2 separate regions of the Homo sapiens genome follow, and region 2 is linked to region 1. The links are contacts of gene promoters, found by promoter capture Hi-C in blood cells and fetal thymus (Javierre and others, 2016). All regions are on one chromosome and are shown on one strand. Each heading gives the region's core, a stretch centred on a gene start or on the middle of the fragment in contact. The rest is flanking DNA. Distances are from core to core; before and after follow the strand shown.

Region 1 (5,024 bases), core at 1,698-4,197:
TTTTCTATTTTTAGTAGAGATGGGGTTTCTCTGTGTTGGTCAGGCTGGTCTCGAACTCCTGACCTCAGGTGATCCACCTGCCTCTGCCTCCCACAGTGCTGGGATTACAGGCATGAGCCACCGTGCCTGGCCCATAATTTTTGTATTTTAGTAGAGACGGGGTTTCACCACGTTGGCCAGGCTGGTCTTGAACTCCTGACCTTAGGTGATCTGCCCACCTCCGCCTCCCAAAGTGCTAGGATTACAAGTGTGAGACACCCCACCAGGCCTGTTCTCTTGCTTTCATAAGTCCAGATGACAAATGCAAGGCAACTGAGGGCCTGGGACTCAGGTGAATTAGCCCCATGGGCAGGACCCTGCCAGGGCAGCTGGAACCTTTTTCTGCCTTTGCCTTAACTAAGCTCAGTTCCATTTCTACAGACCAAGGAGTCCTCCTCCATGACCATTCCCTTCGCACAGAGTGAGGGCTGGGGGACTGGTCCCACTGGAGTAGATATCAAAGCTGGATTATAAAACTTTTTTGAGCTGAATAAACTTGTTTGTAGGGATGGCGGATCCTGGCAGCAGTGGTTAGGGGCAGAGGCCATTTCTGGGAAATTAAACAAAAAGGCAGGCTAATCCTCTTAAATCACCTCACATGTTTTATTACCTAGAAACCCCTCTTCTAAAGGCTATGTCCCAGGCCAGCTGCTTCCTGCTCCTGCTTTGACCTAGGTACCCCTGAATCCTTAGGTATTAGGTTCCAGCTCCTGGTGGCCACAGGTGCTTTAGGGATATGTGTGAGCATGCACATGGTGACAGGATTTCGTCATGCAGGAGGGATGGAATAGTATGGTCTCCTCCTAGCCTGGCCCCTGAGCCTAACCGTGACCTGTTTCCTTCTTCCCCAGAGACCACACCTGAGCATTAAAAGCACAGAATTCATTTATTAATAATTAATAATACTCCTTGGGCAGTCTAGGGCTGAAACATTGATCAAGTGATGGAGAGACTTGATTTGGGAGGCTGGGGAGAGATTGTTGTGAAAATGCCCACATGTGTTATTTCACCTATTCTCCTATTACCTGGCCACTTTGGTCCTGGAGGAGACAGTCCTGAATTCTGGTGACTAGGGTCACAGTTCTAATGGAGCCTATGGAAACTCCGGGGCCCTCTTTTTAAAATGGAGCCATATGCTTGGCGGAATTGGCGGTTCATGGCTGCATAGAGCACAGGGTTGATGCAACCATTGAGCCAGGTGAGGTTGGCAGCAAGCATGTGGACCACCCGGGGAGCCTGGACTCTGGCATCCAGAATGTTGAGCAGCAAGAAGGGGATGTAGCTCAGGGCAAAGCAGAGGAACACAGCAAAACACATTCGAGTCACCTTCCCAAATTCCGATGAAGAATCCGGAGCTCTTCTGGCTCCTTTAATTGGCTGGGCTTTGGCAGATGCTTCTGGAGGGCTTTTCTCTGCCATCTGCTTAGCTCTCTTGCTGTTGATCTGGTCTCCCACTTCTGATGAGTCCCCTTCCAGGGTCTGGGTGGTGGCAGCACTGACTGGCTCAGATGAAATCCCCTCACTGGGTCCTCCTGATGCTAACCTGCTGTCCAGCTCCTGGAAACGACCAGGCATGGCCTCATCAGTCCTGGCCACATGGTTGGAGTGGATGCTTGCCTGTCGCAACTTGTATTGGTCCAGTGCCTGTGCTGCTCGTTTGACCTGGCGGTGGATGAGGCAATAGAAGATGCCAACACTGCTGAGCCCAAGCACAAAGTAGATGCCCATGAGGATGGTGGTGTAAGGCCGGCCTCGGATGCGGTCAAAGCTGCAGGTGCAGACTACAGGTACCAGGATATAAATAGGCCAGAGGGGAGCAAAGCTGGCCACGCCCACAACCCAGGTGCTCACCAGTGCCAGCACTATCCCCTTGGCACTGAAAACTTGGGGAAAAAGCTTAGGGTGGGCAATGAGGAGGTAGCGTCCCAGTGCGATGAGGCAGAGGGTCAGGATGGAGACAGAATTGGAGGCAAAAAGGAGGAGCCCAAATACCCTGCAGAAGGTGGCACCGGTGCGCCAGTGCAGGTGGAGGTAGGTGTCCACAGAGAAGGGCTGAAGGAGCGTGCAGTAGAGGAGATCAGCCAGTGTGAGGTTGGCTATGAGCAGGTTGAATCGGGTACGGAGCTTGGGCTGGATGGCCAAGGCCAGTAGGGTGAGCACATTGCCCACGGTGCCTGTCACAGCCACCACCACCCCCCAGCTAACTGCAACATAACGATAGCCCAGCACAGACTCATGGTAGCAGGAGAAGTTGGCGTCAGAGCTGTTCCACATGATAGAGGCTAAAGAGGCAGAGGGTGGAAGAGGAAGAGGGAATCAGAACCTAGCATTCAACTTAGATCTCTTGAACAGTTCTGGGACCCTGGACATCTAAACTGTTCCTGGACCTCACCTTAATTCAGTATCCTCCTGAACCATTCCCAGGCCTCTTCATCTCAAGATCCCTAACTCTCTCCTTAGGTTCTCTTAGTCCTTTCCCATTCTCAAATATTTCCCCAAGTTTTTATCTAAATATCTCTTGCCTAAATATCTTAGTCTTATTCTGCTCCAAACCTCAGTCCTCTTCTATATCCATCCCGCTGCTCTCAGTAAACCCAGTGCCCTCCAACTTTTTTAATTCCTTCCCCATCCCCAAAGACCCCCAGGAGTCCCCTCTCTCTATTCAGCATCGTGTATTCAGGATCCTCTCTGTATTCAGTTCCCTCTGCTCCTTTCCACTACACACACATATAGGCTTTAGTCATTTCTGTTTGTTACCACCTGGGAGATGAGGAGACCAAGAAGGTAAAAGTATACCCACAACAAAAGTGCTTACCTGAGTTTCTCAGCCTTCAATTCTTTCTATAATGGAAGAAGTTCAACTCACCCAAAGAGCAGTCCTTTCTGGTGGACAGTTAGGCTTCAAGCAGGAGACATCCTGCTCTTATGTATCCTATTATAGTCCACTGAAAGAATAAGAAACTCCCCCATTACCCAATCCCAGCCACTTCCTTCACCACCTCCGGTCCTACTCATTTTGCTTCGGCTAGTGAAATCTAGGCTTCTCTGTTGAAAGTCCCCCGCTACTTACCTCAGAGTGGTTTCACTCTTCCTTTCTCCTTCCTGAAACCCAAACTCTGTTTTCTTCCCCTCTTTGCATGGCAGAACTCATCTGTAAGATCATTGCCAAGAATTGCTAGGGCACGGAGTCAGAGCATCAGAACATTTGGGCCACTCCTCAAAGGGCCAAAAGATAAGACCAAGTTCCAGGAGCAACTTTAGGTACCCCCAGAAGCCTTGGGTTTGTTTCAGAGGAGCACTACCTTTCTTGTCTCCACGGCTTAGACATGGTTCAAGTCAGAGGGACCCATGTGACACCCTAGCACATTTGAGAAACCAAGTCAGATGAAGAAAAGTGGGGAATGAGGCATCCAGAATTCTGGTTTCATTCTCCTCAAGGGATCAGGGTCCTGTTCAATCATTCATTTATCCATTTACCCAACAACTTAGTACTGAGTGCCTACTATACACCAGACTCTGATCTAGACACTGGGGATACAAGAACGTCTGATATATGGCCTTGTGCATAGTCTACTAGGGGAGACAGATACATAAATATGCAAATGCTTAATCGATTCTCCAGAGCAAGGGTGAGTAAACTTCACCCTATGGGCCAAATCTAGTCTGCTGTTTTTGTATAGCCTGTGACCCAATCATGTTTTTTTTCCATTTAAAAATGGTTATATTTTAGGCCAGGTGCAGTGGCTCACGCCCATTATCCCAACATTTTGGGAGGCCAAGGAGGGCAGATCACTTGAGGTCAGGAGTTCGAGACCAGCCTGGCCAACATGGTAAAACCCCGTCTCTACTAAAAATACAAAAATTAGCCAGGCGTGATGGGTGCGCCTGTAATCCCAGCTACTAGGGAGGCTGAGGCAAGAGAATCGCTTGAACCCGGGAGGCGGAGGTTGCTTGCAGTTAGCCAAGATCACATTGCACCACTGCACTCCAGCCTGGATGACAGAGCAAGACTCCGTCTCAAAAAATAAAATAATAAATAAATAAGTAAGTAAAATAAAAATGGTTATATTTTAAATTGTTATATAAGTGCCTATGTAATATCCTCAGTTTTATCTCTTGATTAACACAGTTTAAAATATTTATAATCAGGCCCTTTGAGAAAAAGTTTGCTGAGGCTTGCTTTAAAATACTATATAGGCCTGGCTTGGAGGCTCATGCCTGTAATCCCAATGCTTTGGGAGGCTGAGCTGGGAGGATGACTTCAGGTCAGGAGTTTAAGACCAGCCTGGGCAACATAGTGAGACCCTGTCTTTACAATAAAAAAAAAAATAGCCAGCTGTGGTGATGTGCACCTGTAGTCCCAGCTACTGGGGAGGCTGAGGTGGGAGGATCATTTGAGTCTGGGAGGTCAAGACTACAGTGAGAAAGATTGTGCCACTATACTCCAGCCTGGGTGACACAGCAGGACGTTGTCTCTGAAAAATTAGAAAAACAAACTAACAGGCTGGGCGCAGTGGCTCATGCCTCTAATGCCAGCACTTTGGGAGGCCGAGGCAGGTGGATCATGAGGTCAGGTGTTCGAGACTAGCCTGGCCAACATAGTGAAACCCCGTCTCTACTAAAAATACAAAAAATTAGCTGGGCGTGGTGGCAGGCGCCTGTAATCCCAGGTACTTGGGAGGCTGAGGCAGGAGAATCGCTTGAACCTAGGAGGTAGAGGTTGCAATGAGTCGAGATGGTGCCACTGCACCTCAGCCCGGGCGACAGTGTGAGACTCCGTCTCAAAAACAAACAAACAAAAAACAAACAAAAAATACATCGCTGGGTGCAGTGGCTCACACCTGTAATCCCAGCACTTTGGCAGGCCAAGGCGGGCAGATCACTTGAGGTCAGGAGTTCAAGACCAGCCTGGCCAATATGATGAAACCCCGTCTCTACTAAAAATACAAAAAATTAGCTGGGTGTGGTGGCAGGCACCTGTAATG
Region 2 (5,024 bases), core at 1,752-4,251, 340 kb before region 1:
CCTTCTTTCTCTCCCTCTCTGGCATTCAAACAGAAGCACAAGAGGACCCACCAGTGGCAACTCTAAGCCTCCTTGCAGGCCACATTCCCTGCTGACGTGGTCCTTCCTGCAGGAGAGCCCTTCTGTGATTATCTAATAATAGCCAGGGTGGCTGAGAATAGAATCTGGCTCAAGGACTCTGCACACCCGGGGCAGAGACACTGAATCTGTGGGTCAGGGCCTGGCAACATTCCTTGGAGCCTCCCCCTCTGAGCCCACTCTTTGGGCACCCTTAGGCTTGCCTGCCCCCCTTATAAGGGGCTTTGTCAGCCCTGCCATCCGCTGTATTTCATGTGCTGGTTCCTAGCTAAGGAGAATTGGGCAGAGCAAACCCTTTCTCACCCTGGTCTGACAGTTGTGATCCCGACAGAATGCGACCTTGTTTGGAGAAGGCGACCTTGTTGGGTTGGCTGTGTTCTGAAACCAGGCTTGGGAGTGTTATATATTTATTATATACAGGCTTAAATATACAGACTCAGGCTTATGCATGAATATATACAGACTCATATTTCCTTGGTGGTTAATTGTATATTACCATGCCTATATTCGCTCAAACACCATTTTATGTTCATGCAAAATTTTGTTAGTCCTCACTAGATGAGAGTGGGCTCATGGAGGCACCGGGTGCACTGAGCAGGCCCTCTGTGCATGCTCTGCTGGAAATATGTGCTCACTGGAATCGGAGTATGCGGGTTCCAGTAACCAATGGATGCCATAAAGGCTTTCTCAGACCTTATTGCTTTTGTTGCCCAAGCAGCTGGACTGGGGAAATACTAAATCCCTTCTGCTTTCTCTCCACACCTCCTGGCAAACTCTCCCAACTTAGAAATTATTTTACAAGGGAGACCAGTTGTCTTGAAATTGAGTTCTGCGGGATTCTTTTCACGGGCATGGTGGGGCTGCAAGCAGTTCGGAGTAGTCAGGGCCCTGGCGCTGGAAGCCTCACTGGAGCGATGAAGGGATCAGAGTGGTTAATAAGGTGGCCTCTGGACAGTGATCTGGGGCAGCTGCTGGCCAGGGTGCTTGGAGAAGCTTGTGGAAAAGGCAAGCCAAAAGGGGTAGGGATGCAGTGAATATCTGTTTCTCCCCCTGCTTGCCCCAGCCGGCCGCTCACCCCGCCCCAGCCCGATTTGCCTGCATCCGTGGCGGCAGATTGGGAGTTCTCTAAGGTCCCCCAAATACCCAGATCTGGTTACTGGATGAACTGCGTTTTAATCCTCGTCGCTATCTGAGCCAGGACAAGACCTGGTCAGGGAGACGGCTGGTCCGGGCAGCACGGGAGAGGACGCTGGACCCGCTGCCTGTGGCCTGGAGCACTGAGTATGGGCTACCAAGGCTGAGAATTGATGGGCCTCCTTTCCCAGCCTTTTTCCCTTCCAGAGACACAAAAAGACAGAGCAGAGGGGAAATATCAATGTCAGTGGAAAACCCCATAAAAGAAAGCAGGGACCAGAGCGGGGCTGGAGGGGTTTTCCGCTACTCTCTCTAGGTGATCGGGTTCCTCCCAAGACTCTTGTCCAGACAGGCTGCACCAAGAGGTGTGCAGCTTTCTTCCACCTTCCTCCCGCCCTTCAAGGAGGGCAGCCTTAGGCTTTCTGGGCCTTGGTCACCCCAGGCACTGGGGTGACATTACTCCAGGATTGTGCCCCTCGCCCAGCCCACGGCCTCTGCCACGGCGCCGCAGCCGCTCCTGTTTATTGTGTCTGTGAGTTGTTTACTTGTTTTGTCTGCTGCCACCCTGCGTCAGAAACCCGCCAAACCAGCGAACTCGCCCAGGAGAACAAAGTGCTGTGCTATCCCCGGACTCCCTCCCCTTTCCAGCAACCCCCTCCTGCCCTCACAAGCTCCTGCATTCTCCCTTTCGGAGGGGAGGAAGCAGAAATAGTCTTAAAACAGGGCAGCTGTTTATAGGGTCAGGGGAATTATGGGGACACCATAAACCTCTGGGTGTCCCTGTGGTGGACAGACTTCTGAGCAGCCCTTCCCTTGCCTAGGCTTTTCTTCCTTCCCCTGGTGACCACTTGGTTAAGGGGGCCACACTCATTGAGAAAGTTGAGCCCACCCCCATCAACCCAGTCCCCCACTACCCCACTCCTTTCTGCAGGAGTTTCCCTGAGACACAGGTTGTTGGGTTTTAAATCAGGGTAATGTTGGTGGATTCATAAAGCTAGATATAGCATGTCATTCTTCTCCCACACTCCCTCTCCTCAGCCCCCCAAAATTGCAGTGAATTTAAGCAAATCCTACAAAATTAAATTGCCCCTTTGCTAAAGATCCTATATGTCTCCAATCCTGCCAGGTGTAGAGTCAGATAGTTGGCTTTTGGCCTTTAATTTTGCTGCTAGCTATTAAATTTAAAAGAGTATCATTGAAGTAAGTAATATTCTCATTTCTGAAATTAATTTTCCCCTCCCAGTCTCTCTCTCTCTCTTTTTGCCAGCACAGATTAAATGGTTCTTTCAGATCTGCAAACAATAAAGGATAAAATTATTTATAGGGAAATGAGGATGCTGTTTTATTGTTGGCATATTGTTCCAGAACATAACAACATTTTATTTTCAAGCAGGAGAGGTTAGACCAGGGGGAGAAAGAGGGGGAAAGGAAAAAACATGAAAGGAGGGCAGGAACCCACACACAAAACTCCTGCCATGTATAACTGGTAGGACATTTACAATTTCTATATGACAACTCACTGTGATGTCATAATACCGAGTTCTTGAATTTTATAATTCTCATGAACCTCTCAAATGGGTCCAAGCAGTGCTTCATGTGGAGGGGTATAGAAGAAGCCAGGAGGCTGGGGATCCTTTGACCCAGTGCAGAGCAGCACACCCCCTATTGCGGCTTCTTCCTCATGTGACATCCTCTTGAGGCCCTATTCTGGGGGCTGAAAATATTCTGGATATTCTGCATTTTAATTTTTCTCCTGGGCCAAGCAGGGCCACTTGCTTTGCCCCCCTCAAGTGTCCCTAGGCATCTAAGCTCTCTCCCCATTCCCAGATCACAGAGAGCTGTGTCCCCAGGCTCTCCCCAAGCCCCCTCCTCAGCTAATACTCAGCTGCTTGGAATAGAGGTGGGAGGCTTGGGCACCAGCCCCCAAAAAGCCAGAAATGATTTTTTCCAGATGGAGCTGGAAGGGGGCTCAGGGCTGAGCGTGATGGGGTAGAGATGTTTGGGACCTATTTTACGTTTTAACCTTAAGTCAGAGAAGTGAATTGAGAAGCCAAACAAATGCCAATGTGAGAGTTTGTATCTGCTGATGGTAGCAGCAATAAGTGAAGTGCTGGTAAGGAAAGGTCAGGCAGAAATCTGGAAAGAGAGAGGGAGGAGAGGAAATGTGACATGAGTTAGCAGAGCCCTTCCATATACCTTTCTTCTCCGTTTAATTGTAATAAAGCAAAAGCAGCTCGGGTAGCCTCTCAACCTCTTAGCTCAAAAGAGGAATCACCAGCGCAGGCCTTGGAGGTGTTTGGGGGCAGTTCTCAGCAGCTTAACATGCCCAATCTGCCCTCTTCCTCCTTTCCCCCTCCCTGCTGATCCCCAGCTCCCTTCAACTGGTCAGCCCGGGCCCTGTCCCCAAAATATTAGCACCCCCAAATGATATCCATTTCTGTGTTAGGTGTGTCAAATTTCACTTCTCTCCATGCCTAAACTTTGAAAGGAGGAGTGTACCTTTTTGGAATGCGGTGTGTGTAGCGGGGGCAGGTATGTGCTCAGACAGCTTCCCCCATCATATCTATGGGAAACTGGAAGCCCCTTAGGTGAGCCATGCTTTGGTGTTCCCAAACAGCATTCCCTGCATTCAGGTTCTCTGGCAGACCAGGAGGCTCTTTGCGATCTGATCCTTTGACTAGGAGTTCCATGGAGATCAAAGGAGCTTATTTATACACAAAACACCAGGCATTTGGAGTAGAATTTATTTTTTAATTTCTAAATAAAAAAGTCTAATCATAGACCAATCGGGCCAACTGAGCAGTCGCTCCAGAACAGCAAAGCCTTAACCAAATAGTGTGATTATGAGGGGAGCTGAGCAATTACTGAAACTCGGCTTTCTCCGTAAGAGGGATTTTAGCCCTCGCCCAGTGGCACAAAAGGGGCCAGCGGGGCAACCGTTCTTCTCTTGCTCAGAAAAGTGAGACTTGGGGGTGGTGGGGGCAGGGTCGGGCAGCTGCGGTCGCGTCCAGGCAGCTGAGCACCCAGGCCAGGCGCTGAGGCTGAGCACTGAGTCCTGAGGCTCCAGTGCTTGGGTCCCCGAGCAGCCTCAGGAGGCACCGAGCTGTAGTTGCAGCGCGGCAGTCAGGAATGGAGTATGTGTATCTGTGTGCGAGGGTTGGTGAGTTACAAACATCCGCGCAGAGTTAGGGGATCTGGGGAGAGAGAGGAGACAGGGAGAACACAACTAAGGAGGACCTCTGGAAAATATTGTCCCCAAATAAAAATTCCAGATCTCATCCCTCTCACTTCAAATATCCCTCCCCAGGAAATTAATATATTTCCCAGAGCTGAGTGGAAAGCAAAGGCCAGCAAGGTGAGGCCTGCCCACGAACTTCTTCAGGCTGGGTCCAGTCCCACCCACCCTTTCCCCAGTTCAGAGCTCACATGCCCCCAGCCTTTCCCTGGCCTAAAGGGGAGTAAGGCTGGAGTGGTAGCATTTAACTTGCCTAGGGAAATCCCCAAGTGCCCAGGCTGCAATGCCACCCTTATCCTTGGGGACTCCAGGCCAGTGACTGCACCCCACTCAGGTCCAAGGCGCAGGCAGTAAATTTCTCTCCTATAATTAGCGCTATCAAAAGCATGTGTTTTGCATTGGAGAGGACTGGAGAAGCAAGTGGCAATTTTTCCCTTGTATTCTTTTTCTGTGTTTTTTGAATTCTGTTTTTGAATCCACTAATTAAAGCTTCTCTGAAAGTGAAAATCTGCTCTTGACACCAAGCCCCTTCCGAATGCCTGATTTGGGAGGCTAAGGGGCCAGAGCAGTAGCAAGG

The links. Contacts are between HindIII fragments. The CHiCAGO score rates a contact against its expected background, and 5 or more counts as called.
Region 2: a fragment that was not itself captured here is called in contact with the fragment with the promoter of GPR84 in region 1 in 1 of 17 cell types (neutrophils); the score reaches 5.7 in neutrophils.

Annotation. Positions count from the first base shown.
Region 1 is chr12:54,361,539-54,366,562 of GRCh38, forward strand. GPR84 (G protein-coupled receptor 84) reads right to left here and starts at 2,948. Exons shown (of 2, transcript NM_020370.3): 1 at 2,855-2,948; 2 at 907-2,321. The coding sequence starts at 2,313. The coding sequence ends at 1,123. The region is part of intron 1 of GPR84-AS1 (GPR84, ZNF385A, ITGA5 and GTSF1 antisense RNA 1); the gene reads left to right. RefSeq lists an enhancer at 2,877-2,966. The HindIII fragment of the contact is 7,569 bases long and covers 1,934-5,024 here.
Region 2 is chr12:54,020,057-54,025,080 of GRCh38, forward strand. It overlaps a transcript of HOXC4 not described here, a transcript of HOXC5 not described here and a transcript of HOXC6 not described here. Among named protein-coding and RNA genes, the nearest start is that of HOXC6, 5.9 kb to the right of the region's middle. RefSeq lists enhancers at 1-1,605, 1,673-1,882. The HindIII fragment of the contact is 3,865 bases long and covers 1,070-4,934 here.